Regions from separate parts of the Homo sapiens genome. Here all the other regions are linked to region 4. The links are contacts of gene promoters, found by promoter capture Hi-C in blood cells and fetal thymus (Javierre and others, 2016). All regions are on one chromosome and are shown on one strand. The core of a region is centred on a gene start or on the middle of the fragment in contact, and the rest is flanking DNA. Distances in the headings are between cores, read along the strand shown.

Region 1 (3,214 bases), core at 216-2,715, 350 kb before region 4:
TTAATACTAAGGAAAACCATCTTGCCCATCTAACACATTCCCATTCTGAGTTGAAATGAAGAAAGTATTCACCACCCAACACTAAATACCTCCAAAGCTCCTTTCATCTCTTTCTCTTCCTCCCTCCCCATCACAGAAACCGGCAAACCAGTCCCACCACTGAGCTTTTAGCAGACTGTAGACCATCCACTTCTCCGCAGAGTCAACACCTCCTTGTTTGCAAGTCAGGTTCCTTTTGCCCTAAACGTGCTTAATGTGACAAACATGTTTGCGACCCATCTTCTGTTTATGTGCCTATGTTATGCTGTCTCATGTCTACTTCTGTTCTCTACTTTCGTTGATGGGATGTGTTGATAGCTATTCCCCCAATCTTGTGAGCAGCAAAACACTGAATAGTAAAAACCTGGTGAGCCAGAGATAACGAGGTGACGGGAATGAATCCTCCTGGGAGCTCCATTAATGTGAAAGATGACTCAAAGCACTTGATTGTAATGATAAGAGAGGGAGACACACAGCTGGCGGTGCAGCAACAACCCCCTGGTGCCACTGGTCTTCCGAGTAAGTCTGTATTAAAACTGCTCACAGGGACAAAGGGGGAAGAAGATCCTGCTCGGCTTCTATCTGAATTCAGATTTGTCTTTATAGTTGGAACTAAGACCTAAGAGAAGTGACAGAGGTCTGGAACACTCAGCTTCTATCTGAATTCAGATTTGTCTTTACAGTTGGAACTAAGACCTAAGAGAAGTGACAGAGGTCTGGAACACTCCCACACACGGACTTAGTCATTGTCACAGCAGAACTGTAACAGATGCCATCACTCATACAGAACAAAGCAATAAAAGGACACATACCAAATGTTAACAGCCATTATCTCTGGGATTACCTGGAAATCTTATTTCCTTCTGGCTGCTTTTAGTTTCCAAAAATGTCTACAATGGATACAAATTGTCAGGCCTCCGAGCTCAAGCTAAGCCATCGCATCCCCAATGACTTGCACATATACACCCAGATGGCCTGAAGTAACTGAAGAATCACAAAAGAAGTGAAAATGCCCTGCCCCGCCTTAACTGATGACATTCCACCACAAAAGAAGTGAAAATGGCCAGTCCTTGCCTTAACTGATGACATTACCTTGTAAAAGTCCTTTTCCTGGCTCATCCTGGCTCAAAAAGCTCCCCCACTGAGCACCTTGCCACCCCCACTCCTGCCCACCAGAGAACAACCCCCCTTTGACTGTAATTTTCCTTTATCTACCCAAATCCTATAAAACGGCCCCACCCTTATCTCCCTTCACTGACTCTCTTTTTGCACTCAGCCCAACTGCACCCAGGTGAAATAAACAGCCTTGTTGCTCACACAAAGCCTGTTTGGTGGTCTCTTCACACAGACGTGAGTGAAATTTGGTGCTGTGACTCGGATCGGGGGACCTCCCTTGGGAGATCAATCCCCTGTCCTCCTGCTCTTTGCTCCATGAAAAAGATCCACCTACAAACTCGGGTCCTCAGACCCACCAGTCCAACGAACACCTCACCAATTTTAAATCAGGTAAGCGGCCTCTTCTTACTCTCTTCTCCAACCTCTCTCACTATCCCTCAACCACTTTCTCCTTTCCACTCTTCAATCTCTCCCTTCTCTTAATTTCAATTCCTTTCATTTTCTGGTAGAGACAAAGGGGACATCTTTTATCCGTGGACCCAAAACTCCGGCGCCGGTCACGGACTGGGAAGGCAGCCTTCCCTTGGTGTTTAATCATTGCAGGGACACCTCTCTGATTTTTATTCACCCACGTTTCAGAGGTGTCAGACCAGGCAGGGACGCCTGCCTTGGTCCTTCACCCTTAGCGGCAAGTCCCGCTTTTCTGGGGGAGGGGCAAGTACCCCAACCTCGTATCTCTGTGCCCCAATCCCTTATTTCCATGCCCCGACCTCTCTCTGTGGCCCAACCTCTTATCTCTGTGCCCCAACCCCTCATTTCCACGCCCCAACCCCTTTCCCGCTTTCCTGGAAGGTAAGAACCCCTGAACCCTTTCCCTCCGTGTCTCTATTCTCTCTTTTCTCTGGGCTTGCCTCCTTCACTATAGGCAACCTTCCACCCTCCATTCCTCCTTCTCCCTTAGCCTGTGTTCTCAAGAACTTAAAACCTCTTCAACTCACACCTGGCCTTAAAACCTTATCTTCTTCTGCAATGCCGCTTGACCCCAATATAAACTCAACAGTGGTTCCAAATAGCCAGAAAATGGCACTTTCAATTTTTCCATCCTACAAGATCTAAATAATTCTTGTCGTAAAATGGGCAAATGGTCTGAGGTGCCTGACGTCCAGGCATTCTTTTATACATTGTTCCCTCCATAGTCTCTGTTCCCAATGCAACTCGTCCCAGATCCTCCTCCTTTCCCTCCCACCTGTCCCCTCAGTCCCAACCCCAAGCGTCACTGAGTCTTCCTAATCTTCCTTTTCTACAGACCCATCTGACCTCTCCCCTCCTCGCCAGGCCGAGCCAGGTCCCAATTCTTCCTCAGTCTCTGCTCAGTCTCTGCTCCCCCACCCTATAATCCTTTTATCACCTCCCCTCCTCACACCCGGTCCAGCTTACAGTTTCGTTCTGCGACTAGCCTTCCCCCACCTGCCCAGCAATTTCCTCCTAAAAAGGTGGCTGGATCTAAAGGCATAGTCAAGGTTAATGCTCCTTTTTCTTTATCTGACCTTTCCCAAATCAGTTAGCGTTTAGGCTCTTTTTCATCAAATATGAAAAACCCAGCCCAGTTCATGGCTCGTTCGGCAGCAACCCTGAGACGCTTTACAGCCCTAGACCCTGAAAGGTCAGAAGGCCGTCTTATTCTCAATATACATTTTATTTTATTACCCAATCTGCTCCCAACATGAAAGAAAGCTCCAAAAATTAAATTCTGGCCCTCAAACCCCACAACAGGACTTAATTAACTTCACCTTCAAGGTGTACAATAAGAGCAGAGGCAGCCAAGTAACAATGTATTTCTGAATTGCAATTCCTTGCCTCCACTGTGAGACAAACCCCAGCCACATCTCCAGCACACAAGAACTCCAAACGCCTGAACCGCAGCTGCCAGGGGTCCCTCCAGAACCTCCTCCCCCAGGAGCTTGCTACAAGTGCCAGAAATCTGGCCACTGGGCCAAGGAATGCCCACAGCCCGGGATTCCTCCTAAGCCGTGTCCCATCTGTGTGGGACCCCACTGAA
Region 2 (3,175 bases), core at 39-2,538, 330 kb before region 4:
GGGGCGGGGCAGAGGTGTGCACTGTAAAATCAGTTATATGATTTTACATGTAAAATCCATGACAAGGAGATGATCTACTGGCTTGGAGATCCACAGGATATATTAGCATGTTAGAGGTGCTGAGAAGTCCCACAAAAAACAAATGAAACTCTTGTGAACCTAGAGTTTCCCTTTTTAAACAAAGCCTTGCCTTTCTTGCACTTTATGTTCAGAATCCGGTCCCCCTGTAATCTCAGCTTCCTGTACCATGTTCAGCTCAGGAAGTATTTGTTAAATACATCACTACCTGACCAAACTGATATATAAATGATTTTCTTTTAAGCTGAGAATATCTTCCATGTGTTTTAGAAAGACACATGGTCATGAAACCATATGACATTCTTGCTATTTCCCTAGAACTGAAGACAGAAACGGGCAGCAATCGCAACTCACCAGACCCCAGCTCATCGTACAGCAGGATGGCAGGCTCCCCACAGATCTGGTTGCCAAAAAGGCATCTTGCTTGGACGGTGAACGTGTAATTATGACCCATCTTCAGGTTGGAAATTTTAAAGAAATTGTCAGTAGTATTCCCAAGGTAAGCTGTGATATTCATGGCACTATCAAACATGTGTATCTCATAGCCCTGAAAACAAACACAAGAGATTGCTCAGGAAGTCGAATATGGAAACTGACAGCCTCTATTACTGGTTCCATCTTTATGTGAGCTCCTCACTGTGGGCTGCTACAGACGCGAAAGCGCCCTGGGTTTCTCCTTGTTCTTTTTACATTACCACTGAGATACTGGATTCAGAAAATGAAAATTTTTCTCATCTCCAATATCTCAAATAACTGCCACACCACCCCCCCACAACAAGCTATATCGTGGAAATGAAAACTGTGGCCCTCAGGAAAGTCATTTTACCAAAGCCACACTCAGAGATTTGCTCAGCAGTCTGCCTGTCTCAAGCAATATTAAATGCCACCAAGAATCTGAACAGTTTGCCATAATGGAATTTGACTAATAATAAATCCAGGTCGCAGTGGACTCCAGCAATGGGGTGAGAAAGGAGAACTTGCAATTAGAAAAGACAAGACATTTGTCCCCAGAACAATATGTAGGAATGACCTTGTCGGCTCACTTCCTGTCTCCCTGCTCTCTAGCTCCTTCTGAGCCGATCTCAGCCCCCCAACAACCTGGCCTTGAAATCAGAAGCACTGAAGCCAGCTCAGGCCCCTGTTCACTGGAGGAGAGGATGAAATGTCTTCCTAGTTACAGCCCTGGACTCTGGTGCTGGAAAAAGCCATCCTGGGGACAGCCCTGGCCCAGGATACTAGCTGGGATGAGGGCTGACAACCTGACTTCTCTGCTGATCCCCAACTATTCCAGTGTCAAAGCTACTGACACTCTCCACCATCCCCCTGAAAAGACTCCATCACTTTTCTCTAGCCACATATTGGGCCCCCTTGCATAATCACAGTCTCTTGATCCCAATACCACTGACCCATCTATTCTTGATGTGGTTTGGCTGTGTCCCCACCCAAATCTCATCTTGAATTCTAGCTCCTATAATTCTCCTGTGCTGTGGGAGGGACCCGGTGAGAGATCACTGGATCATGGGTGCGGCTTCCCCTATACTGTTCTCATGGTAGTGAATAGTCTCACAAGATCTGATGGTTTTATAAGAAGTTTCCCCTTTCACTTGGCTCTCATTCTCTCTTTGTCTGCCGCCATGTAAGATGTGGCTTTGCTCCTCTTTGCCTTCCACCATGATGGAGAGGCCTCCGCAGCCATGTGGAACTGTGAGTCAATTAAACCTCCTTCCTTTATAAATTACCCAGGCTTGGGTATGTCTTTATTGGCACTGTGGAAACGGACTAATACAATTCTTTGAACTCCTTGTCAGGGGAAGGGAAGAAGGACATGCTATGCCTATGCCAGACCCTCCACTAGGAACGAAATACTAACCTAGAATCTTAACCTAAGAGCCGGGCTCCAGCCACCCAGGAAGGATCCCCTAATGGCGACTGGCTGCCGAACTGGGATTCCCAATACCTGCCTGGAATCTCATCCCCGCATTCTTTCCTATAAGCCAGCAGTTATTACCTTCCACCTAATAGATATCTGGTGTCGATCATTTGTAAAATACACAAAGGTTATAAAGAAAATAATTGAGATTACACAACATCAACCACCCATACGTTATTTAACCCATCCTCTTCTGTTCGGCATCTCGGCTGTTTCCTCTTTCTTGCTGTCATAAATACTACACACAAATTCTTCATGCACGTTGCTGCTTTAGAGTAAAATCCTACAACTGCTGGATCAATGGGTGTGAACACTTTCAACGTTTTTGATAGGTATTACCCAAGAACCTTACTTGAGTTTGAACCAATTCATATTCCCAGAACGTTTACTTCCCCAACTACTATTCATACCAGTTATACTCTTCCCTGCAAATCTTTACCAATTTAACATGAGAGGGTTACCTCTTTGTTATTTAGATTACCGGTGAGGTTGAACTTTTCTCCTTTTGCTTACTGCTGCTGGAATTTTCCGCTTTGTTACATGTCCCTTCTTCAAAATTAGAATATTTCCATTTTGAACTTACTTGAAAGCTTTCCTTCTATTTAAGGATATTAGCCATTTAGATGTCATAGTTACAAGAGTTATGAGAATTCTCACAGAGTGTGTGGTGAGAATTTTCCAATTTTAATTTCACTTTGCTTTGGTATTGCACGGTGACTATTTAGAACCCATGGCTCTTTGCCTATGCTGCATCTCCAGGTAGCCATAGTTGATTCATCACATTCCTATTTAGCAAAGGCTTTGCTGTCTCTGGGGCCAACCCAGCTTTACTCAAGAATCTGTCCACCCTTGGGTGGTAAATCTACTCCCAGGTCTCACTCCTCTTCCCCTGTCTTTTGCTGTGAATACCATATTGGCCTACCAATAGCAAAACCAAACAAAATCAAGGTGTTCTTCATAAGTTAGCACAGTATCTTCAAGTGCCTCCTGCTCCCTGTAATTTATCTGGGAAGAGAGTGCTGAGATGCCAGGCTGAGAGTGCAGCTCAACTCCTGGTACTGAAGCCACAGTCCCACCCTCAGCGAGTGTGGAATAGGCTCCTGGTTTAACACCCTGAGCCCCAGCCCAGCTGCAGCTTCTGCGGGAAGCACAGCATGGCCTCCAGCC
Region 3 (3,102 bases), core at 589-3,088, 310 kb before region 4:
GACCACCTGAGCCTGGGAAGACTGAGGTGGTGAGCAGTGATTGCGCCTCCACTGCACTCCAGTGTGGGTGTCAGAGTGAGACCTTGTCTCCAAAAAGAAAAAAACTTAGCCACAAAATTGCTGATATGCCTCATATTTTAATGACGATGACCTCCTCCTAAGTACCAAGTACTAGGAAATATCTAGAGGAGGAACGTAGAGGTAGAAACTAGACAAAAAATGCAAGAGGGCAATGGTGGAGAGAATCTTAAATTAACTTAAGGTACAAGAACAGTCTCTGATGCAGTAAGAAGAACAGATGTTTGACAACTCTGGCAAGACTATAAAGCTTAGCCACCATACTTCTGTACATGTGAGGCACACATATGTTCCCACATTCCTGAGAATACTCAGAAAGACCCTCACAAACCCCGACCTGAGGTCTTACCCATGCCATAAAAATTAACTGAAACACTTACATCCCTCTGGGGTCCTCAGGGTCACAAAGTCATTGGTGTTGTGTGCCTTGCTGAGACACTGAACCTGTACTTTAACCTGATACGTGGTATCTGGTTTCAAGACTTTTAATACAGTGTTTGTCTTATTGCTGTGGGTCTCCAGAGTCTTCCATATGCTCTCTCCAACCACCCTGGCCCAAAAAAAAATAAAGATATTGTCACACTGGAGCAGCATGGGGGGCTGAGATGTCTGACTCCGTTAATAGCATGGTGCATGCCACTAGAGAGTTTACAGAACATCCTGGGGCAATGAAGACATCATTTTCATCTCCCATGACAAAGATGGGACCTACCTGTAGTAGACATTATATACACAAGAAGCAGAGGGCATTTTTTTGGGCCTCATCCAGGTCAAAGTCACATCCCCAGAGAAGTCAGCTGTCCACTGAAGATTCTGTACTTTGTACACAGTCAACTCATCTAGAGAGATAAAGGAGAAAAAGACAAACAAAGTTACATCTTGGCTGGGCGTGGTGGCTCACGCCTGTAATCCTAGCACTTTGGGAGGCCGAGGCGGGCAAATTGCCTGAGCTCAGGAGTTCGAGACTGGCCTGGGCAATGTGGCTAAACCCCGTCTCTACTAAAAATACAAAAAAAAAAAAGTTACATCTTACAAATCCTTAGATTTCAAAGGACTCCTGCTTTTAAACAGAACTACCATGATCTAGATTATCAGGAGGCCATAATCATTATCTGAAAAGAAATCTCAGAAAATGTAGTTGAAACCTCCCTATACAATCCCTCCTAGGGTCTCCTACTTTTCCGGTCGTGATATTTTCCCTCGAATTTCATCTTCCTCCTGCCTATGACAATTTAAGCCTATTTCTCCATAGAGAATGCTACAAGTCCAAGGACCATGTCATAGGGTCCATTACTAGACACTCCAGAGATAAGAACTGAGTTAATCCCACCAGCAGATTGAGACTGTGAGAGCCATGGTGTATGGGCATGAGGTGGGAAGTCCATAAAAAAAAAAAAATCCAAGACTAGCATTTCACTAACAGGGAGGAGACAGCTGCATGTTGTATCAGAGTCTGGCCAAGGCTCACCTCACTTGGGGCTCCAAAACTAGGCACAAATCTGTTTTATCCTTAGATTGAGCAACAGTTCAAAAGGGTCCTAGCTCAAGGTCTACACAGGAGGGGCCCTGGGGTAAGCGAGCCTCCCAGCCCAGCCCAGCCCAGCCCAGCCCGTGGACCGGCACTCACCACTGCAGGCCTTTTCATCGCTCTCGTCCGAGCAGTCCAGGAAGCCGTCGCAGCGCTCCGAGAGCACAATGCAGGCCTCCCCGTCCTCGCACTGGAACTCCCTGCTCATGCAAGTCAAGGTGCTGTGTGTGGCTGAAACACAGAGAGGCTTCTTAAGTCCACGGGGAGGGGCCGTATGGTACTAAAGGCTGGGCCCAAGTTTATTCCCATTTAGGCAAAGTACTAATTGGCTTCTGCTTCAAAACACACCTCTGGAATGACCAGTGGTGGAATCTATACCGGCACTAAGGTGCCATCTCATCTAACATTAACAACTGGAATCTGCATTCGGGAAGAGTGAGCACTTTGGAGTCAAACAAACTAGAGTTTAAATCCTAGATCTGCATGAGCTTGAGCAAACAGCTTAATATCACCTGAGTTCAGTTGCCCTATAAAAAATGGAAGTAACAATTCCATCACTATCATGTCTGCAAGGATCTAATGAGATCACACACCTGGAACACTGCCTGGCTCCTGGCCGGCATCAACAAACTGTAGCTATTACTCTATAGTACTATTAATTATTCTGCTACTATTATTAGTTTGCAATCTAGAAAGAGGAGCTGATTTCTGGTTTGAGTAACAGAAATAACAATGAGATGAATCCCAACAATATTAAGAGGCATGCATACTTTATGTAGTATTTAAAGTTGTTTGGCTTTTCAAAGTACTTGAACAGAAAATGAAATAATGCAAATAATGAGCACTGGTAAGTTAAGGGTTATGCAACTGTATGTCTAGGCTATTGACCAAAATGTGATGTGCTCTCCAGTTCTGAAAGTAGATTAAAACTGCACGGGAGGCTCCAAAAAGAAAGCAATGACCGTATAATTGCAAATGCTCCTGAAAAGAGAAAAGGTGAGAATGGCTGTAGACAGCAAATCTGCTATGCAGGCTGTGTACCTGGGTGGTACAAATCTGCTATGTAGCTGGTTGAGCCCAGGAACAGTAACTTGAGGCCTTCCTTATACAGATTCACACCTGCCTGCCCAGTCCTGGACAAGGAAGGGCTACATCAGAAATCCAATCCCACCAGTGATGAGGGTCTAAAATCAATCTTGCTCCTCCAAGTCAAAGACGTCCACATCCTAATCCCTGGAACCTGTAATATGTTACCTTATGTAACAAAGCAACTTTGCAGGTGTGATTAGATTAAGGACCCATAGGTAGGAGAGTTCAGCCTGGATTATCCAGGTGGGCTCTGTCTAATGACATGGGTCCTTAAAAGCAGAGACCCTTTTCTGGTTGTGGTGAGAGACAGAGAGAATACAGAAGACAGGTGAGAGACATGCAACATCACTGGCTTTGAAAATGGGGAAATTATAACAGACAAAAGGAGGCTGAACATGAGTGGCTCC
Region 4 (3,308 bases), core at 418-2,917:
CATAGGGTCATAAGAGTAAATAAATGCTGGAGCTAGGATTCAAATACACACAATCTAGTTGCAAAGTACGTGAACTTCTGCCAAGTTCTATAGCCTCTTCACCACTACTTCAAGTCGTCAACTCCTGAATTTTTAAAAATGTTCAGTGCCTCTACAAGCTCATATAATTTTAAGGGGTTATAAGCCCTGAAGTTAGGGGTCCCAAGGACCCTAAATTAAGTACCACTGCTTCAAACAGAAACTTAAATACTTTGTCCTTGCAGAATTAAAGAAACTTCTTCTTAAAACTCAGTTATAATAACAATATTAGGCTTAGAACAACTCAGTCTACCATTATCTTTTTGCCCTACTTTAAAAGTATAGAAAATGATAGCTAATATTTATTGAGAACCAGGTATTATTTTTGTATAACCTCATCTAATCCCTATACCTCTATGAGATAGGTACTTCTATGCTCCCCACTTTATAGATAGGGAAACTGAGGTCAGAGTATTTAAATAACTTGTTCAGTAGCAAGCAACAATAACAGAAAAAACCAGCTGGGATGTACATTCCACAACCTTTCTCTTTGCTACCACGTTATGTTATCTCTCAAGATGTTTTATATGCAGATGAGGGATTCTGAGTACCACCCCATGCTAATTAATTACATTACATAACGAATGGAAAAGCACTCTGTAAATGATCAAGGATCAGTTATTATTTACTAGGTATCAATCATTAGAAACTTTAAAAAATGATAGTGATATAAAGACAAATAACTTCCAGAGGGTTTCCTCTAAAAGTACCGAGCTGCCACAAACTTTCCAGTTTGGAAACTCTATGTACTGAGGTCTTGTTTTCTTCACTTACACCACCTCCAAATCTACTCTGCTGTAACACAGGGATGTCAGTATACATTATTTTTCCTTTTATGATGCAAAAGGAACAGATTATTTCCCTTTTCCTTTCAGTCTCCTCAGCCCCAGATTGCTGTCCCTTCATTCTAATTACGCCGCAGCAACAGAGGCTTGCAATGGTCAGGAGTTCTGATACCGACCAGTTCTTCAGCCTGATTCTTCTGGCCTTTAAAAGAAAAAAACCCTCCCAGAACGAAGGGAAAAGTAAAGCATTCGTGTTCAGCAGCCAGACCAGAATTCCCTTGAGTAAGAGATCTGCAACACCCAACATCAAACACTGCATTTTCTTTAAGCCCGTCCACGGTCGGCTCCTTCAAGTCCAGGCCTCCCTATCGGCCCCGCGATCCCTCCCAGCGCGAGCGGAAGGCCCCTCCGCCCGGACTCCCAGGTGGCGCAGCCCTCCAGGCCCCGAGGTCCCCCGGCCCAGCCCTCGCCGCCAGTCTTCGGGATGCCAGGCTACCTGCCAGCCTCTCCTCTCACTCGGCGCAGGACTCGGATCCGTATGCTACCGCGATCCTACCATCCGCCCAACGCCTAGCACCCAGAGGGCACTCGCTAACCAACCGCGGCGCGGAGAAAAGCCGTGCTGCGAGGACACCTTCCGCCTCGCCCACCCGAGTCCCAGGCGCTGAAGTCTCTCCATCTTCTTTTATTCCATCGCCCCCCGGCCCAGCCCGCTCAGGTGTATTCCGCTTCCTTCCCCGCCCACCCACCGTCCCCACCTGGAGGTGGTCCGCCGCCGCTCCGCACGCCACTGCTCTGCAAACTGTCCTAGCAGCTGGGCAGCCAGCAAGCGGGCCGGGAGGCTGGAGCGGCCAGCCAATCAGCGACCGGCGCCATAAGCTGATATGACGGCAGATCGCGCGAAGGGCCTGCGCGCAGCTCTCCGCGGTCACGTGGGCGCCGCGCGCTCGGCCACGCCCCCTTTGTCCTCTGACTAAGGGGAGGGCGGGCGCCCCATCCGAGTACCTTTGCGGTGGAGGATGCGGTTTCGGGTTTTGCGTTTGTTTCTTTGCTTTCTTTTTAAACTAGCTCTTGTGTCATTCATGGTGGTACCAGGCAGGTTTACGGTGTTTATACAAACATTCCTAGAACGGGTGCCCTGCGTTGAGGGAAATAGACGACACTTCCTTTGACGCGAATGTCTGGGTCGTTTTCTCCCTCAAGGGAGGAGGTGCAGATGTTCCCAAACAGGTGCTCAAGGTTTTAAGACGTAGTCCCCCCGATTTTCTAGCGCTGAATGGCTGGAGGCTCCGCGAGCCGGTGTATGTAGGGGTCTAAATGGTGACAAGATGAGGGTAAACATGGACAGAAACCTTTTCACGATACAAGTTGTTGAAAACCAAGGTTAACGCAGATCTAATTGGCTTTGATTTGCTACACATGAATCGAGCAGCTCCGATTTCCTGAAACAGAGCTGAGCAGAGGAGGGTGGCTTCACAGGCAGAAGAGGACGGAGGAAAGCAGAAATAAGGAACCAAAAGATCTGTCGTTTCAGAGTGACTTTCCTTAAACAGAGATTAAAACAGAGGGGACTGACTTGTGATACCAGCTCAGCAACTTCAAAGTGGCAAACTGGGCCACTTTACCTATTACATAAATAATATGGGGAATACATGACAGAAATGAGGGATTTTTAAGGGAAAAAAATAACATGATTCGATCTGCCTTCAAAAGACTTTTCCGGTAGTTAAACTTCAAATGTACATAGGATACTGGACAAAGTTCAAATGAATTTAAAATAGTGTAGGTGGTTTTTTTAAAAAAGACTCATTATATAAATAAAAATAAATTTTAAAAAGTTTTGAGTGTCTACTTCGTTTAACACATCGTACTGAACACCGGGAATGGAAAGAGATGTTACAATAATGACAAAGACATGGTTCCCAACCTTAAAAAGCTTATGTGCTGTGGGAGAAATGGGCATGTATAAATAACTATGTTGCTTATTACAAGGACAGGAAATAAACAGTAATTGGTGGTATAGGCTGAGCACAGAGACAAAATGGCTATTCTGATGAGGGAAATTAGGGAAGGAACATTGTTTTGCCCAATGAAATGATTTGAATGGACACTTTAAAATGTTATTGAGCATAGATGATAAAACATTTATTAAACGAATAAAAGCTCAAAAGTGAAATGTTATAAGCAAACATCAAATATCCTGAATCTCTAGAATTTTATTGTTGAATATGCCTTAGCTATTACAAGTGGTCTTTATTCTTGGTGACTTAGGGATTCCCAAGAAATTTGCAATCACTCCTGACAACTCAAAGTAGTAATAAGTTAACCTCAAGAGAACAATCTTGTTTAAAAATAAATTTAAGTGTATTTTTTAATTATTATTTAAGTTCTGGGATACATGTGCAGAACGTGCAGGTTTGTTACATAGGTATACATGTGCCATGG
Region 5 (3,447 bases), core at 187-2,686, 370 kb before region 4:
TGCTCTGTCACCCAGGCTGGAGTGCAGTGGCACAATCTCAGCTCACTGCAACCTCCACCTCCCTGGTTCAAACAATTCCCCTGTCTCAGCCTCCTGAGTAGCTGAGATTACAGGTGCACGCCACCACATCCGGCTAATTTTTTTGCATTTTTAGTAGAGACGGGTTTTCATCGTGTTGGCCAGACTGGTCTCAAACTCCTGATCTCAGTCAATCTGCCCGCCTCGGCCTATCAAAGTGCATGGCATGAGCCACCATGCTTGGCCCAGAATTACTCTTTTTTATGAACCTGTCTAATCGTTTAGGTAGTTCAGTCCAACTTTAAGCATTTTGTTTTGACTCCTTACCTAGAATGCACACCCTTCGTGGGTTTTCTCTGTTGTCCAAAGCACCTAGCATAGTACTGGACATGTGCTTAGTAAGACCTGTTGATTAATGGGTCAGCCTCAGTCCACCAGTTCACCAGAAGTCAACTCCAACTGAGACTACAAATTGGTAGTAAAGGCTCTGATGATAGCTGATTCCTCTGGAGCTACTTCTGGCTCCACACTCTATCAGGGTATAGTGGGATGATGGCCATGCAGTGAGGTAGCTGTTCCAGCTCCAGAGACGACAACTCTTTGGTGGACATAGAGGACAAAAAAGATCAAACTGGTTTTCAGTATTTTTTTTTACCCATACCATATTAGTCAAGATTTTGCTAGAATTTTGCTAGATAGTTTATATTATAAACATTCATTTTCTAAGCAGGAATGTATAATGAATATATTTTTCTGAAAAACACTAGATTTTTTTTTTCCTCCTTTGCCCACTCTGGAGATTCTGATATCCACCAGATGGGTGGATATCGAGTTGAAGCCCTGTTCACAGTGCAGCTTTCTACCATCTTCATCCAAGATGGATGAGCCAGGTAATACATATGATGCCTCCCACCCTCAAAGAACTTCTCCCTGTGGTGGGAATCTGAAGACCCAGGTTCAAGTCCCAGATCTACCTAATGGATAGCTCATTCCTTCTACATCTCAGTTGCCATCTATAAAAAGGTAAAAGGTGAGGAGGAGCAAGCTATTCCACTCTCCTTCCTTTCCCTGTAGGATTATTCTAGTAAAGATTAAATAAGATACAATGGGAAGTTCTTGGAAATAAAAAGACATGAACATTTTCCTTTGGGCTTTTAAATAAAATCCCCTGTCCCCTAGAATGCTCACATGCACTTACCTGTTGGTGGCTGTCACAAGCATCTGGGGCATATGAGATAGTTTATATAATCCAATCCACCTTCAAGCATCTTATTTTGACTATTTACCTAGAATGCACACCCTTCATTGGTTTTCTCTGTTGTCCAAAGGACCTAGCATAGGAGCTCTTATCTGAGCACCTGATGAGAAGACGACACTCAGAAATCTCGGTATCATGCTCACCTTCACTGTCAGGGTCATCAAAGTTGACACAGAGGGAAAGATTAAAATATCTATAGAATAAAAGCAACTCAATTCAGAAGAAGGGTAAATTTTGGAGTTTCTCTACTGACTGGAGTTTAAGAAAAAAGCTAAGAGGGTTAAGAGGAGGCAAATTTCGTCAGTTCAGCTGGAGAAAGCTCTCCATTCTGAGGTCATGCTCTGAACCAAGATGCCGTCAATCCAAGGTCACCCACCCTCAAAAAGGAAAAACACTGAAATTCTTTTAGAGCAGGGAGAGTTCAAGAATAGGCACTATCTGGGCTGAGATGAACTGACTGAGGTAGGCTCTTTTCCAGGATGTCAGAACATTGTACAAAGAGAGCATCCAGGGATTCAGGTAATTACCGTCACCCTGACTTGGAAAGTCCACCAATGATAGACTATGCCACGGGTCCCAGCATCTCTGAACTGCCCTCTTAATTGGTTTTATCCTGTGCCAGTTACTCTCAAAGGCTCTAAATGCCAGTTTGCCCTGTGGGGCATTGCCCCTGAGTGGACAGAACTAGCTCAGAGCTGCCAGGGCCACCTGGATGTCAGGCTGCTCTGAACCACTACATGGGTAAGGCAGGATATCCCAAAAGGAAAGGGCTGGCTGAAGGCGACCAAAGGAAATCTCAGCCAGGAAAGATAGGCTTTGTCAGGTCACTGCTTAAAATGCAACAGGGAAGCAAAGCTGGTCTCTTGAGCCAGGTGGGAGCCAAGGCTGGTAATTAAGAGGTAAGAGACACTGGAGCCAGCGGGCTGGGAATTAACTAAGCAGATGGTGGAGGTGGAAGTGCAGTTGCTCCCCAGCCAAGTTCCCTTGTGCACAAATGACATTGTTGGGTACGTGTCCTACCAAGGGCTCCAGCTCTTTGACACAGCAGTGCGACTGTCCTGCCTCCTGCTACATGGAGACACATTATACCATACCAGCTCCTACACTGTTCCGAAAGCATGCTAAAACAATGCTATCTCAGCCCCCGAAGCCTCAGCTTTAAGGGTATTTTATTCTCCTGCTTGGCCTTTGAGATTCCTTCCTTCCTTCCTTCCTTCCTTCCTTCCTTCTTTCTTTCTTTCTTTCTTTTTCTTTCCTTCTTTCAATTCATTAGACAATGAGCAAGCACCAATTATGTGCCCGGCTTTGTGCTGTGCCCTGCCGATTCTAAGATAAATGTGATTCCTGTACAGTCTGAACTTGAGCTGGACTTGGAAAATGGGTCTAGTCAGTGAGACAGACAAGTAAATATGTGCATGAAGGTGACATCGTTTCTAGGAGTGAAACTTTACATGGCTGACCAGTGCTCCCTTAACACTGTCTGCTCTGGGCTTCAAGGATAGCACAGTCACCTGGTTTTCCTCCTAACTTAGTGACGCCTCCGTCTCAGCCTGCTTTGCTGGATCTTGTTCCTTCATGTCTCAGAAAGTCCTGTGGCTTATTCCCTGGTCCTCTCTTCCCCTGAGTGACATCCAACACAGTGACTTTAAGGACCATCTATGTGCTGACAATTTTCAAATTTATAGTTCCAGCCCAGTTCTCTTCTGAGCTCAGTTCCCTACATCCAACTTCTCTCTGACATCTATGTTTGGATACCTAATAGACATCTCAAGCTTATTTACTGTTTACATGTTGACTTTCCTCTTCTTCAGGTCTGCTCCCACATCCACCAGCAAATCCTCACTCCCTCAGTACATGGCAGGACACCCATCCAATCACTCAAAGAGAAAATCCAAGATAAAGAAAATCAATCAATAAATCAATAAGTCCAAAACAAAATCCAGCATCTGCTACTTCTCACCATCTCTTATGCCCTAACTCTCACAGCAGTTGTGGACCTTATCCCCAAAATATGCATATATGCAACATTTTCCATATCATTTCAGAGGTTTCATGGACTCATTCACACACTGCTGGGGGAGAGGCTTGTCAGTAGATTTCAGGTTAAGAACCCAGGTCACACTGGCTGCTACAGATGAGTGTTTATATCTGTTTAGCAGTTTTAGATGTTA
Region 6 (3,224 bases), core at 409-2,908, 390 kb before region 4:
CCGTATGCAAAAAATAACTCAAGATGAATCAAAGATTTAAATGTAAGACCTGAAACTATAAGACTCCTGGAAGAAAACCTAGGAAACACCATTCTGGACATCAGTTTTGGGAAATAATTTACGACTAAGTCCTCAGAAGCAATTGCAACAGAAAGTAAAATTGACAAGTGAGAGCTAATTAAACTGAAGAGCTTCTGCACAGCAAAAGAAACTATCAACAGAGTAAACAAACAACCTACAGAATGAGAGAAAATATCCACTACTATGCATCCTACAAAGGTCTAATGTCCAGAATCCATAAGGAAATTAAACAACTCAGCAAGCAAAAAACAAAGAGCCCCATTAAAAAGTGGACAAAAGACATGAACAGACACTTCTCAAAAGAAGACATATGAGCAACAAACAAGTTTATATAAAAGTTCTCAACATCACTAATCATCAGAGAAATACAAAACAAAACCACAAGGTGATACCATCTCACACCAGTCAGAATGGCTATTATTAAAAAGTCAAAAAACAACAGATGCTAGTGAGGCTGTGGAGAAAAGAGAATACTTAGACACTATTGGTAGGAATGTAAATTAGTTCAGCAACTGTGGAAAGCAGTTTGGAGGTTTCTCAAAGAACTTAGAACAGAATGACCATTCAACCTAGCAATCCCATTACTGGGTATATACCCAAAGGAAAATAACTTGTTCTTTCCAGAAGGACATTGGCACTCCCATGTTTATTGTGTGCTATTCACAATAGCAAAGACATGGAATCAACCTAAGTTCCCATCTACAGTGGACTGGATAAAGAAAATGTGGGACATATACACTACAGAATACTATGTGGCCATAAAAAAGAATGAAATTGGCCAGGCATGGTGGCTCATGCCTGTAATCTCAGCACTTTGGGAGGCTGAGCGGGGTGGATCGCCTGAGGTCAGGAGTTCGAGACCAGACTGGCCAACATAGTGAAACCCCGTCTGTACTAAAAATACAAAAAATTATCTGGGCGTGGTGGCAGGTAACTGTAATCCCATCTACTTGGGAGGTTGAGGCAGGAGAATCGCTTAAACCTGGGAGGTGGAGGTTGCAGTGAGCCAAGATAGCGCCATTACACTCCGATCCGGCAACAAGAGCGAAACTCCATCTCGAAGAAAAAAGAAAAAAAACAAGAATGAAATCATGTCCTCTGCAGCAGCATGAATGCAGCTGGAGGCCATTATCCTAAGCAAATTAACACAGGAAAAGAAAACCAGATAGTACATGTTCTTAGTTATAAGTGGGAGCTAAACACAGGTACTCATGGACATAAAGATGGCAACAATATACACTGGGGACTATTAGAGGGTGGAAGGAGATGGGGAGGGTTGAAAAACCAACTATTGGCTACCATGCTCATTACCTGAGTGATAGGATCAATCGTTCCCCAAACCTCAGCATCACACAATATACTCATGTAGCAAGCCTGCACATGTACCCTCTGAATCTAAAATAGAAGTTGAAATCATTTTTTAAAAAAAGAAATTGAAAAAAGAATCCTTGGGACTCGATTCCTGGCAAGAAGGCTATAGGGATGCAGAAGAAACCACTGGAAAACAAAAGTTATAATATAAAAGTGTAAAAATAGATTTGGAGGGCATCAGAAGGTCCAAGTGGGTAGGAAACGGCCTTTTTGTCTGGAGTTTACTCCACTTCTATCCCCTTTGTAGACAGGAAACCTGGGGCCCTGCTCGATGATTATAAACAGAAAACTGTAAACTTGGACAAAGGTGGGGCAAATCAAAATCTACTGAAATAGGACACCTGGGATTATTCAAATGGCACTGGGCTGGTTAGTTAGAAGACTTGAGCAAATCCCAGAAGTGCTCCAAGTCCCATGACGTCTCTACAAAGTGCGTAAGGATGCCTTCCACCTCTGATGTTCTCTGAATCTGTTTCTGAACCCTCTGCACATTGTGTGCATGCTACAGGCACTTAAACACTCACTAAATGGGCAACCCAGTGTATTCCACACAGGACAGCAAGATGACTCTAGTATAATATTCTCCTGACTCTCACTCAAAATACTAAGATCCATTCTATGGGAAGGACCAGGTGCATTGTGGGAATGGACAGAGCTGAGCTCAAGGAGCCCTGTCATGTGAGGAGCTCAGAGCCTTGGCACCCCTGGTACTGCTCTCCTGCTTCCACCTCCACCTGGGTCCTGAGCTCCAGAATTGGGTTCCTTTCAGTCCATTTGTGTCCCCTCAATCTGTGGAATTTCTCAAATGCTCCAGATTTTCTGGCTAGTTTAACAGCCTTATGGAAGGGTTGAAATCTCGAATTTAAACTGTCAATGCTGCTTAAGGTCTAACAAAGCCTCAACGATCTAGCTGAATCCAGGTCCCTTATAAGGATGCAACTGAATGCCGTAGTCATTTGGTTTTTGCAAATTCTTCTCTTTCTATTGATGTTAAGAAACTTTGACATAATACTAGAAGGCAACTAAACACGCAATGAAAATAAGGCAACGCAATTTCTTGGTAAACCCTTGAATTTTAATTCCTATCAGTCATGAAAGCTCAAACCAGTGATTCTGGGAGGTAAGTGTTCTAACATAACCTGTGGGCACCATGCTGGGAGAAACTATCAAGACACCCACCTTCCTCATGTGTCTTCACCCTGATTTCTGATGTCAAATTGCACAACTTTCTTGAATCCCTGAGCCTCAGTTTCACCATCTGCAAAAAGAAGACAGTAACCTATTTTCTACCTAGCAACCTATCAATATAATTTATTGTATCAATAATATAATATTAGAGTAACTTGAATTGAGTTAAAAATTTTGTAAGGACTGTGATAAGTTTACAGAGGGATTTTTTTCTCCTTTATCTTTCAAAAGTTTTGAAATGTAATCATATTTCACTCCCCAAAATTAATTTATGACAAATTTTAACATAAAGTAACTTGAAATTGATGAATGCCATATGAGGGCAAATCACAGCCAAACCTTAATTATTCATTTGCCACTGGATTCACAAAGTCTATTATCTACAATTAATTTTTAAAATCCAAATGGAATTTCCCTGGTCACTAAGAATACTTTAGAGACAATCTCAATCAATCAGTCAATCACAAAATATGAATACATGTATTGATTTTGAACTGTGAATTCGGCACTGCAGAAAACATCTGAGAAGGAAGGAGAGGACCTTCAGGTCCTGACCTGAAGGAATCCCAGTGATGTTGGAAAAA
Region 7 (3,247 bases), core at 222-2,721, 290 kb before region 4:
TCTGATTTTGAGTGCCCGGTAAATACTGCATGCTTAATACATATTTTTTTTTTAATTACAAGGATGGAAGAGATGGACTTTAATCCAGACTGAAGAATTTAGGGAAGAAAAAGAATCCTCTGCATGGTAGGATTCATTGTAACTATAAGAATGGTGAAGTTCGTGTGGTAAACAATCGTGGAAATCTAACATCAGTTTCTAATATAGGTCAATATCCTACAACTTAATCTTTGACTCAGGCAGAACTTTCCTGATTCATCAAGACCTGCTGGAATGCCTGATTAAAAGCATTAACCAAACATGAGCAGAGTAGAATGGATGAAATAAGTAGTATAACAGGGAAAGTACTGCCTTATTTCTTACAAAGCGCTAGACTATAAAGAAACGCATGAGGCGTGGTAGCTCATACCTGTAATCCCAGCACTTTGGGAGGCCGAGGAGGGTGGATCACTTTGAGATCAGGAGTTAGAGACAAGCTTGGCCAACATGGTAAAAACTCATCTCTACTAAAAACACAAAACTAGCCAGGCCTGCTGGCACACATCTGTAGTCCCAGCTACTCGTGAGGCTGAGGCAGGAGAATTGCTTGAACCTGGGAGACAGAGGATGCAGTAAGCCAAGATCGCACCACTGTACTCTAGCCTGGGCGACAGAGACCCCGTCTCAAAAAAAAAAAAAAAAGTGTATGAGAAGGGGACCAGGTGCAGTAGCTCATACCTGTAATCCCAGCACTTTGAGAGGACAAGGTAAGAGGATCACTTGCACCCAGGAGTTCGAGACCAGCCTGGGCAATATGGCAAAACCCCATCTCTACAAAACATACAAAAATTAGCCAGGCATGATGGCACATGTCTGTAGCCCCAGCTACTCAAGAGGCTAAGGCGGGAAGATGGATTGAGCCCAGGAGGTCAAGGCTACAGTGAGCTGTCATCGCGCCACTACCCTCCAGCCTGGGAGACAAGACAAAACCCTGTCTCAAAAAAAAAAAAAAAAAAGTAAGTGCATGAGGAAAAAAATGACTATCATCACAATTTGAATGATTAATGACAGAGAAGAAAAAACATAAAGTATTAAAAAAAGAACACTGAAAAATAAAAGGCAGATTTGAAAAAGAACCAAACAGAAATTCTAGATACAAAACGTATACTCATGGAAATAAAAAAAACAGCTCCATGTATATGTGAAACAGCAGATTAGAGTTAGCTGAAAAGAGAATTGTTGAACTGGAAGATAAATCTAGAGAAGTCGCTCAGATTCTAGCACAGAGTCATAAAGAGACAGCAAATATAAAAACAGGAGGGAAGAGAACAACAGAATGAGGCAGTCCAACGAATGGCTTAGAGTAACTGCTGAAGACAAGACCAGAGAAAGTAGCCAACAGGTATAGTTGAAGAGTTAGTAGCTGTAACTTCCCAGAGTTGTCTTTCGAAAAATTCTCAGATCTTAAAACAAACAAAGTCTCAAGCAGGATAAGTAAAAATAATTCCACACCTAGGTAGGTAAAACTAAGAGCAATATAACCTAAAGGTAATTAGAAAGAAAAGAGTGTCTGTTATTATTTGAACAGACAACTAAGAGCAGAATTCAAATCAACACAAAAGAGGCCAGGAAGAAATGGAAGAATTCTATGAAAATACGGAAAATTACTAAAAGCCTAGAAACCCAGACCCATTTGAATTCAAGATTGAGGATTAAATATATGTCTATAATAACAAAACCTTGAAAGAGTTTGCCACTCATAGACTCCTGCTGCAAAACCCCTGAAGGATGTACATTGGTGGGAGGCATTAGCAACAAGACACAGAGGTAGTTGGTAATACCTGTGTGCCTATGCAGAAGTGTGGTTATTTAAAAAGAGTAACAGTGAAGTTTAGGATTTTTTAATATAAAACTAAAATACTAAATATTTAGTGTTTAAAATACTAGGTATTTTAGTACTGGAACTGTAGGCAGAGATTTGGATCAAATTCTAAAGTCCCCATATATCTAGGAGAGAGGAAAGATGTTAAGAATACAAATAAAATGTCTACAGGTAATTGTCCTAAAAAAACACACAGAAATCAGATGTACACGTTTAAAAACAATAGCGGTGGGTTGAGGTGAATAAAGAAACAGCCTCGTGGAAAGTAAAAGTGGCGAAAAGAAAAGCAAAGAGGACGCACAGCAGAGTGCGCATCCAAGCTGATGCCAACAGGAGGTCAGCTACCTTGACCTATTTCTTTTGGCACTGTACGCAGCTTAATTTAGTAGGTCTGAAAATGAGGTGTCATGCCACACATCACCATGAGCTCACATCTGACCTCCAACTATTTTGAGATGACAGAGAAGGTGGATCATCCTTGAAAGGTTTGGAAGAACAGCCCTTGGAACAAGGCTGCAGCTGAGCAGCAAGGACTCTTAAGTTTTCTCCAGTTTGCCTTGCCGGAAGAAAATCAGAGAAAAAACCAGGAGTTTATACAAGCTTGCCTATAGAAATGAAGTAATCAATTCATTCTGTAAGACCGGCACATGCTGCTGAAATGCAAATTTGAGTAAGGCAGTTGTGTTAACAAGATGTTCAATCATACTGCAATTTACAAACTGCAATGTCCAAGTGCACCCTTCTAATCTATTAACTAAGTATCCATCCAAACCCAAAGCTTCCAAACAGCATTCACGTGTTTCCTGTGCCAACGGCAGCTCCTTTATGGGCCTCGGTTCTTCCTCCTTCTGCAGACCATGCTTTAATATACAGAGAGAAGCATTTTCCTGCAGTCTTTTCAGAAGCAGAGGTGCAGACACAGAGGCTGCGCCAGAAAGAACATGGGTGGACTTTACAAGCGAACAGGATTTGGTAACACCACAGAATATCCCATGTGATGTATATGGCATTTGAAGAGATCTATTCACTCCCTTAAGGCCATATGAGGTCACCTCCAAACTAAAAGGAATGGAGGGAAGCAGTTGCATAAAATTACTCAATCCACAAAGGTTCTCTGAGCACATACTCTATTATGTGCTGGACACTGCAGAGAATACAAAAGAGTAAAAGAAGAGGTCATCTCTCTCCGTGGGGAAGCAAGTCTAAGCCAGAGCATAATGCACAGTTATTTATCCTTAGGTCTGAGATATAACAGATGTACCTTCTTTGTATTTCCTTTTACCAATTAGTAGGCGTGCTTTGAGCCGCCAGATGCCGGGCAGTGTAGGAAGTGCTGGGATACTCTGGGGGCAGAGGAGGTTAAGACATGAGATTTAAAAGTCCAAT

Evidence for each region. The method cuts DNA at HindIII sites, captures the fragments that hold promoters and counts their contacts. A CHiCAGO score of 5 or more calls a contact.
Region 1: a fragment that was not itself captured here is called in contact with the fragment with the promoter of SC5D in region 4 in 4 of 17 cell types (neutrophils, total CD4 T cells, total CD8 T cells and 1 more); the score reaches 17.6 in neutrophils.
Region 2: a contact is called between a fragment that was not itself captured here and the fragment with the promoter of SC5D in region 4, in 10 of 17 cell types (non-activated CD4 T cells, neutrophils, naive CD4 T cells and 7 more). The highest score is 21.3, in non-activated CD4 T cells.
Region 3: a contact is called between a fragment that was not itself captured here and the fragment with the promoter of SC5D in region 4, in 14 of 17 cell types (non-activated CD4 T cells, total CD4 T cells, naive CD4 T cells and 11 more). The highest score is 30.4, in non-activated CD4 T cells.
Region 5: a contact is called between a fragment that was not itself captured here and the fragment with the promoter of SC5D in region 4, in 1 of 17 cell types (neutrophils). The highest score is 12.0, in neutrophils.
Region 6: a fragment that was not itself captured here is called in contact with the fragment with the promoter of SC5D in region 4 in 1 of 17 cell types (neutrophils); the score reaches 7.6 in neutrophils.
Region 7: a fragment that was not itself captured here is called in contact with the fragment with the promoter of SC5D in region 4 in 10 of 17 cell types (neutrophils, non-activated CD4 T cells, activated CD4 T cells and 7 more); the score reaches 14.6 in neutrophils.

Annotation. Positions count from the first base shown.
Region 1 is chr11:121,641,293-121,644,506 of GRCh38, reverse strand. No RefSeq gene overlaps it. Among named protein-coding and RNA genes, the nearest start is that of SORL1-AS1, 190 kb to the right of the region's middle. RefSeq lists an enhancer at 1-379. The HindIII fragment of the contact is 5,004 bases long and covers 1-3,214 here.
Region 2 is chr11:121,622,535-121,625,709 of GRCh38, reverse strand. SORL1 (sortilin related receptor 1) reads right to left here. Exons shown (of 48, transcript NM_003105.6): 46 at 433-625. Among named protein-coding and RNA genes, the nearest start is that of SORL1-AS1, 170 kb to the right of the region's middle. The HindIII fragment of the contact is 2,624 bases long and covers 1-2,600 here.
Region 3 is chr11:121,602,928-121,606,029 of GRCh38, reverse strand. It overlaps SORL1 (sortilin related receptor 1), which reads right to left. Exons shown (of 48, transcript NM_003105.6): 33 at 1,706-1,837; 34 at 791-917; 35 at 459-628. Among named protein-coding and RNA genes, the nearest start is that of SORL1-AS1, 150 kb to the right of the region's middle. The HindIII fragment of the contact is 3,015 bases long and covers 331-3,102 here.
Region 4 is chr11:121,291,130-121,294,437 of GRCh38, reverse strand. It overlaps SC5D (sterol-C5-desaturase), which reads right to left and starts at 1,667. Exons shown (of 5, transcript NM_006918.5): 1 at 1,622-1,667. RefSeq lists a silencer at 1,656-1,705 and an enhancer at 1,876-1,925. The HindIII fragment of the contact is 7,130 bases long and covers 1-2,801 here.
Region 5 is chr11:121,664,113-121,667,559 of GRCh38, reverse strand. No RefSeq gene overlaps it. Among named protein-coding and RNA genes, the nearest start is that of SORL1-AS1, 210 kb to the right of the region's middle. The HindIII fragment of the contact is 3,229 bases long and covers 1-3,050 here.
Region 6 is chr11:121,684,295-121,687,518 of GRCh38, reverse strand. No RefSeq gene overlaps it. Among named protein-coding and RNA genes, the nearest start is that of SORL1-AS1, 230 kb to the right of the region's middle. The HindIII fragment of the contact is 4,552 bases long and covers 1-3,224 here.
Region 7 is chr11:121,578,353-121,581,599 of GRCh38, reverse strand. The region is part of intron 25 of SORL1 (sortilin related receptor 1); the gene reads right to left. Among named protein-coding and RNA genes, the nearest start is that of SORL1-AS1, 130 kb to the right of the region's middle. The HindIII fragment of the contact is 1,985 bases long and covers 479-2,463 here.